Linked DNA regions of Homo sapiens: region 1 is linked to region 2. The links are contacts of gene promoters, found by promoter capture Hi-C in human tissues and cell types (Jung and others, 2019). All regions are on one chromosome and are shown on one strand. The core of a region is centred on a gene start or on the middle of the fragment in contact, and the rest is flanking DNA. Distances in the headings are between cores, read along the strand shown.

Evidence for each region. Contacts are between HindIII fragments. The study calls those that stand out against the background at their distance.
Region 1: a fragment that was not itself captured here is called in contact with the fragment with the promoter of KCNH8 in region 2 in 2 of the 25 tissues and cell types used here (dorsolateral prefrontal cortex and hippocampus).

Annotation. Positions count from the first base shown.
Region 1 is chr3:19,231,197-19,234,569 of GRCh38, forward strand. All of the region lies in intron 1 of KCNH8 (potassium voltage-gated channel subfamily H member 8), which reads left to right. Among named protein-coding and RNA genes, the nearest start is that of MIR4791, 82 kb to the right of the region's middle. RefSeq lists enhancers at 2,638-3,154, 3,155-3,373. The HindIII fragment of the contact is 4,114 bases long and covers 1-3,373 here.
Region 2 is chr3:19,146,979-19,150,626 of GRCh38, forward strand. It overlaps KCNH8 (potassium voltage-gated channel subfamily H member 8), which reads left to right and starts at 1,532. Exons shown (of 16, transcript NM_144633.3): 1 at 1,532-1,817. The coding sequence starts at 1,742. RefSeq lists enhancers at 1-380, 381-974 and a silencer at 1-93. The HindIII fragment of the contact is 8,005 bases long and covers 1-3,648 here.

The DNA of each region.
Region 1 (3,373 bases), core at 536-3,035, 84 kb after region 2:
TAATATGCATATACACCTCTATACTTCTATGATAACACTGATTAAAATGTACTATGTTTTCCTTTTTATTTATGCATGTTCCCCACTACACCAAACAAATCCAAGGGAAAGGATTGTGTCATTCACTAGTGTAGTGTCCTTATTGTGCATAATGCTCGGTATGTTGTAGATAAACTGTAACTTCTTTTGAGTAAATAAGAAAGATGAGAGAAAATCTGGTGGTCTTTGTATAATGGAATTATACTTTTTTTACATTTACATTTTATATTTTATTTAGTACTTTCTTATTTATATAATCAGAACAGACAATTTAAAAAGTAATAGTAAATTTATATATTGAAAAAGAGAGATGGCATCTTTTTTCCAAAACTGCTGGCTTAGGTATATAGTGTTGAAATGGTTCTTTCTAATTTAGCTCTAGTTTAAATAACCCTCTCTTAATGGGCCAGCCTACAAGATCATATCTGTTGCATGGCTTCCTTTCTACCCCATGGTATTCTTTTACAGAATGAAGTATCCAACAGTGCAATGCTGAATCATTATTAGCTCTAATTTGGGAAATCGAGCCTTGAAGTAATAAGTGTTTGGGGTCTGATTCTGTGAATGCTACTCACTCTCAGCTTTCCTTTCATCAAAGGAGCTTGTCTTCATTTGCAAACATTTCTTTTCTCTTCAAAACATCTTTCACAGTGCCTTTGCCAGGTAAATACATTCCTTCCTGAAATATTAAATCAATACATCAAATTAATTGCCGCGAGTTTTGAGACCTGACACCAAAAGAGAATACACAGCCTCTAGCTCAATTCAGAGGTCACTATGCTGAATTGCTTTCACAATCTTTGAATTATGCATTTGAAATGTTTGCTGCTGTATCTTGATTGGAATGTATTTTTTAGTGTGAAAATAATTGACAGGAATTAGTGTTTTTTTCCTTTTCAAAGAAAAATTCAGGATCACATGGAAGCCTCTTGCATGATTAGCAAACAAGACACACCTTCCAGATTTATTTACTTCAATCAATAGATTGCAAATGTCCTAATGTAACTTGAATACGTCATCTGTGCTTGGTTGCCAAGAAGATAATCTGACTCTTGGTTTTATTTCCTCAACCATATCCTTCACTGAGAATCTGGAGAAAATCCCTCAACATTTTCATCAAAGGGATGTTTGATGTAGAAAATCTTAGCTACAAGAAAACCAAGGATCCAATACAATAAAGGAGAGTTTCTATTTGCACGTGTTATGAAACTTCAGCCCACTGTTTTCTTACCTAGCTAATCTTATGCTTTAATGTCCAAGCTTGTATAGAATTCAAAAAGTGATCAGGAATTAGCCTATAGGATGCTTTTGTAAAAATTAGAAAAAGGTACTCCTGGTGGACAAATCAGTTAGGAAAAAGAATCTCCTTGAGTGGATCCTGGGGTGCAAGGTTAGTCACTGGCACACTGTTTCCCGTTTGGCTTAGATTCTTTGTGAAATGCACAAATGCCCAACCTGGGATAGCAGCTCTTGGGTAAAGGATGAGTGTATGAGAATTGTATGAAGCATCTGAGAGGTATGGTATGAAAGATGCCCTGTAGCACCTGGGAACACATCCAAATCTCAATTGGCATGGGTCACGTGTAGCTACAGGTCTCAGAAATAGTTCTTGGCCATTTCAGAGAATACTATTCATGCTGTTGCCAAATTCAAAGCATGAGGAACAGCTGATTTTTATATATTGCTGATGTTTGACACATAAAATGGCAATTTTCTATGATTCAACCTAAATAAGTCCCCTATTAGTAGTGCTTGGCCATTTTCTAATGTTTTGATTAAAATGCTACTTGTCTCTTATCCCTACACCTCAATGTCTTGATATTCCTCCCCCCCCCCACCCCACTACATAAATTGAGCTGTTATCTTAAATGGCAGCCATCTCTGTCTGGAGCTGTTAATTCTTGATACTGTTGAAAATAACTTTGATTTGATCTTATTGCTACTGTCAGCACACTGAGTGGGTGCCAGTTTCAGGACACAATAGTAGGTGAGGGACTTTTTAATCAGTGAAAAGTTTGTAGCAGAAGAGTCACTAGTATTATTTGTTAAATCTACCTAGAAACATGAAACAATTGGAATAATTACTGGACAAATATTTTACAAAAATGCATGTAGTGTTTTTATAGGTTATAATGCTTACAGTGAGCTTCAAGAAACTCTAGAACTTATGCTTCTGTGCTTTGCTGCTTTGTTTATTATAGGGAAAGAAAAGAAGATAGGAAGGAAGGAAAGAAGTTAAATATTCTTTCATGAATGGATAAACTGTTAGAGTTTATCCTACAGTTGAGTAGTTCAATTGGAGCAAATAGATGTACAGCAGATCCTTGAATAATATTGTTTCATTCAAGTCATTTATTATAACATTGATGAGAAAAAAACATCAGTTCCCAGCCTGGGCCACTGTCTGTGTGGAGTTGGCTTGTTCTCTTGTGTGGATTTTCTCTGGGTACTCTGGTTTCCTCTCACGTGTCAAAGATGTACACGCTAGGTAATTTTGTGTCTGGAATTGGTGGGTTCTTGGTCTCACTGACTTCAAGAATGAAGCCATGGACCCTCGCGGTGAGTGTTACAGTTCTTAAAGGCGGCGTGTCTGGAGTTTGTTCCTTCTGATGTTCGGATGTGTTCGGAGTTTCTGCTTTCTGGTGGGTTCGTGGTCTCACTGGCTCAGGAGTGAAGCTGCAGACCTTCGCGGTGAGTGTTAAAGCTCATAAAGGCAGTGTGGAGCCAAAGAGTGAGCAGCAGCAAGATTTATTGCAAAGAGCAAAAGAACAAAGCTTCCACAGTGTGGAAGGGGACCCCAGCAGGTTGCCACTGCTGGCACCGGCAGCCTGCTTTTATTCTCTTATCTGGCCCCACTCACATCCTGCTGATTGGTAGGGCCCAGTGGTCTGTTTTGACAGGGCGCTGTTTGGTGCGTTCACAATCCCTGCGCTAGACACAAAGGTTCTCCACGTCCCTACCAGACTCAGGAGCCCAGCTGGCTTCACTTAGTGGATCCCGCACCGGGGCTGCAGGTGGAGCTGCCTGCCAGTCCCGCGCTGTGGGCCGGCACTCCTCAGGCCTTGGGTGGTCCATGGGACTGGGCGCCGTTGAGCAGGGGGCGCCGCTCGTGGGGAGGCTCCGGCCGCACAGGAGCCCACGGAGTTGGGGGGAGGCTCAGGCATGGCAGGCTGCAGGTCCCGAGCCCTGCCCCGCGAGAAGCCAGCTAAGGCCCTGCGAGAAATTGAGCACAGCAGCTGCTGGCTCAGGTGCTAAGCCCCTCACTGCCCCAGGCGGGTGGGGCTGGCCGGCCAATCCGAGTGCGGGGTCCGCGAGCCCTCGCCCACGCGGAACT
Region 2 (3,648 bases), core at 282-2,781:
TAGCCTAGAGCCTCTGCCGGATCTTCTCGAATTTCAACACAAAGGGAATCCTCGGCCGCAGGAAGTGCATCACGAGAAAGGGGGCCTGGGGGCGGGGAGAGGGGGATGCCGCTTCTCTCTCTTCTCCCCCTCCCTCCCGGAGCCCAAGGCAGACGTGACGAAACCCGCGGGGTCCCCCCCGAAGCCCCAACAGCCGAGATAATTGAAACAAGAAACCCCCTTAGTAAGGGGGCGGGGGGTGGGCCCTCCCTCCCTCCTCCCGCCACGCCCGAGTTCCTGGAGATCAGAGCTGCCTCGCCGCGGCTCTGACACCTGTTTGCTTTTTCCCTCCTTTCCTTCCGGGTGCACTAGCACCTGGGCTTACGTTTGTTTTTCTACCCTGGGGCTCTCAACTTCCCTTCCACACTCCACCTCCCTTGCAGAGTTTTCTATAAAGTTCGGGCTCTGGGTGTCCCCTTGCACTCCCCACAGGGCTGTGCCGCAGGCTTGGGCGACTTTCCCCGCAGAACGTTGGCCGAGAGGGAGTCCCCGCGGGGGGGGCCAGGGGGGAGGACTGGGAGAGACCACTTTCGTTTTCTGAGACGCCTTCAGTTCCTGGCCGTCCGCCAGGCTTTCTTCTTGGAGGTGTCAGTCTTCGGGAGTGGGGGCTGGGGAAAGGGGGGCAGGCTAGGGGATTTGTGTTTGAAGCTATTTTTGGAAGGCAGCCTTACTGTTTTTACTTACGTGGTATTTTGCAAATTAATAAAAATAGCAAACTTTTCTAGAAATGCTTTATTCACATTTTACCGGAGAATGGGAAACCATCCATTGTCCGTTCAAAAGGCTATTTTTTTAAAGTTTGGGATGGCTTGGGGAGGCCAATGGCAATTTGGGGAGAAGGGCTGAAGCACCCCTTTTTGGAGCTCGGGGCCAGTTTCCCGGACTAAAAGACCCTGGTGACTGGGGATGGGCCTCACAACTAACTCGGGCTGCCCTGCCCCTGTCGCGTGGGCTCGCAATGGCAAGTGCTCCGGAAGGGGGCCGCCTCCCCGTGGGGCTCCTGGCTGCCTCTGCTCCCTTGGACACCACTGGGGGGCCTCCCCCTCCTAAGTTCTAGGTTGAGGCCGGATACCTGCCCCGACCTGTCTCCTCCCTTTCTCCAATACCACACCCACGGGACTCCAGTCTCCCCGGGAGTGGGACGGAGAGGGAACAAAGGGGTCTTTGTTCACTGGCTCCCGGGGCGTGGGAGTTGCGCTCGCTCTCCTTTCCCGGCGTCCCGTGGAGACCGGGAGGCTCAGCGCCTCTCCCAGCTCTCAGCGCCGCCCTCCCAGACCCCAGAGACGTCGGTCAGGGCGCGGCGCCCCGGGCCACTGCGGGCTCTTTCCGGGCGGGCGACGTGGGGGGCGAGGCACCGCGCGGCGGCGCCTGGCGGGCACTGTTGCCCGCGGAGGGACGGTGGGGGGGTTTCAGCAGCTGGCGGGGGTGGAGGGGGCGGGAGAGGGAGCCTGCGCCGGGCTGAGCCTGGAGGTGCGGGGCGGGCTCGGGGAGCGCTCTTGGGGCTCCTCCTGCCACAGCCGGGGCGGCTGGAACTCTCTCCCTTTCTCCCTCCATCCTTCCACTTCCCCTGCTCGGCCCCGCCGTCAGGCCGGGTCCCCCTTCCCTGCCGTCATCAGGTTCCCCTTCTCCCTTCTTGGCACTTTCCTTTCGAACCATCCTTCTGGACAAACTTTGATGGAGAATTTCACACCACGCTGGAAAAATGCCGGTTATGAAAGGATTACTGGCGCCGCAAAACACCTTCCTGGACACCATCGCCACCCGTTTTGACGGAACACGTAAGTCTTACACTTGAACGAGTGGTATGGCATTTTCTGAGACTGATTTTTCTCGTACACATTACTTTTGCTCCCACCTTCCCTTTTGCACCAGCGGAGTGAATTTTCTTCTGTTCTTGCCAAGGTATCTTTTGTGCGGAGAAATTTGTTCCCTCATGGTTTGGTGTAGTATTAACACTTTGTATTGGTGTAATAGTTGGCTCTCTTGAGTTCTTGGGTTTGTTAAGGACTGAAACGCAGCCTGAGGAAAGACCGACGCCCGTATTCACTGTGGGACCTGCATTTTGGTGTATCTTTAGGGAATTGGTTGTAATTTTCTGAGGTGAAAAGGGGAATATCGGTGTACCTAATCTTTCTAGAGTTTCAAGGCTCCCTAGATCAAAAGGAGAGCTTGGAGTGTTCTTTCTTGGAGCTTCATTCCGTGATATATTTCGGATAGGTATGATTTTCTATCTGAGTTTAAGAAATGCAGGATTGCCAAGTGTAAGCTTTCTGTAGAATTTTAAGTGTTGTGAGTTTGTCAGAACCTTGATTCCTGCTTTTGAGCTAGAATAGCGTATCTTTTAATCCTTAAATGAGCCTAACACTCAAGCAGAGGCTGTTCAGGAAGAAGGACATGAATAAAGACGATTTGATGATAAGAGAAAGTTTTTAGTTTTTTTTTTTTGAGTACGAATATTATTGGACATTTAGCTCATTTAAGCTACAGTAGGAAAAAAAATAGATAGGATGTTGTGTGGTTGCTAGCAGACGGTTCGTTATCATCTGCAAGTTGTTCTCTTTCAGGACCACGGTCAGGTCCCCACTCCTTCTCAGGCTTTTCAAGCTCTCTACTTGACCCTGTGGATCTTCCTAGCTGGCTTTAACCCTGTAATTAGGAGTCTGTACTACCACCCCTAACAAATGCTCTCAGTTGGTTTCACTACGAATATCCTCATCTTCTTTCTAGCTTATCTTGCTTCTGTGCACTGTCTTCCATTTTTCTGTTGAGACTCAGAGAAACTCATTTATCCTAAAGTCCTTCTTAGTGGTTCAAGTGTCATTGCTTTTACTCTGTATATTTCTTGGAGCTGATATGGGAGAGCAATACTAATTTCATTTCCACTCCAGTAGTCTAAATACACAGTCTTATCTTTGGGTGGGAAGCAAGTCTTGGACTTATGCTTCAGGGATAGTTGGAAAAGTTTACATGAGAAAGAAATGAATCACTTTAATTTTGTTCAGTTTTTATTTTTGACATCTAGTCTAATCATGGTAGTTGGTGTGGATATTTGGTCACTTCATAAGTGTTTTTATCTTTACATCTAGCCATTCTTTTCCCTTTTATATTCTAAATGTGTTAGATGTTATGTATGAGGTGTAATGTTATTACGTATGTCTTTTTTAGATAATAATGATAAATATTATAGGAAAACTTCAAGTCCCTGCCATTGCCACTACCACACCACTGAAGCGCCACACAAAATCACCACTGCTGTGTTTTACCATGCATGATGGCGGATACTACTATTTTACTATTCATTACCTGAGGTACTGATCAGTTTAATGTGGATGTTTTTTTTTTTGAAGTTGAACATCCAAAACTAAAAGGCTGTAAACATTGATCCTGAATTTGTCTATTGAAAATGAGGTAATTGGCAAATGGTAATTGTTTATCTCATTGCCATTTAAAGTTGAATGAAGTGTAATGTGTAGTGAATCATCCCAGCACAGCCTTGGGAATTACTGCAGTGATACATTCAGATATCAATTGCTAATGAGAGGGGCTTTAAATCATCAGCGTGGAAATATCTTGGCCTCTGACTCTGACTATAGTGATATGCATGATAAG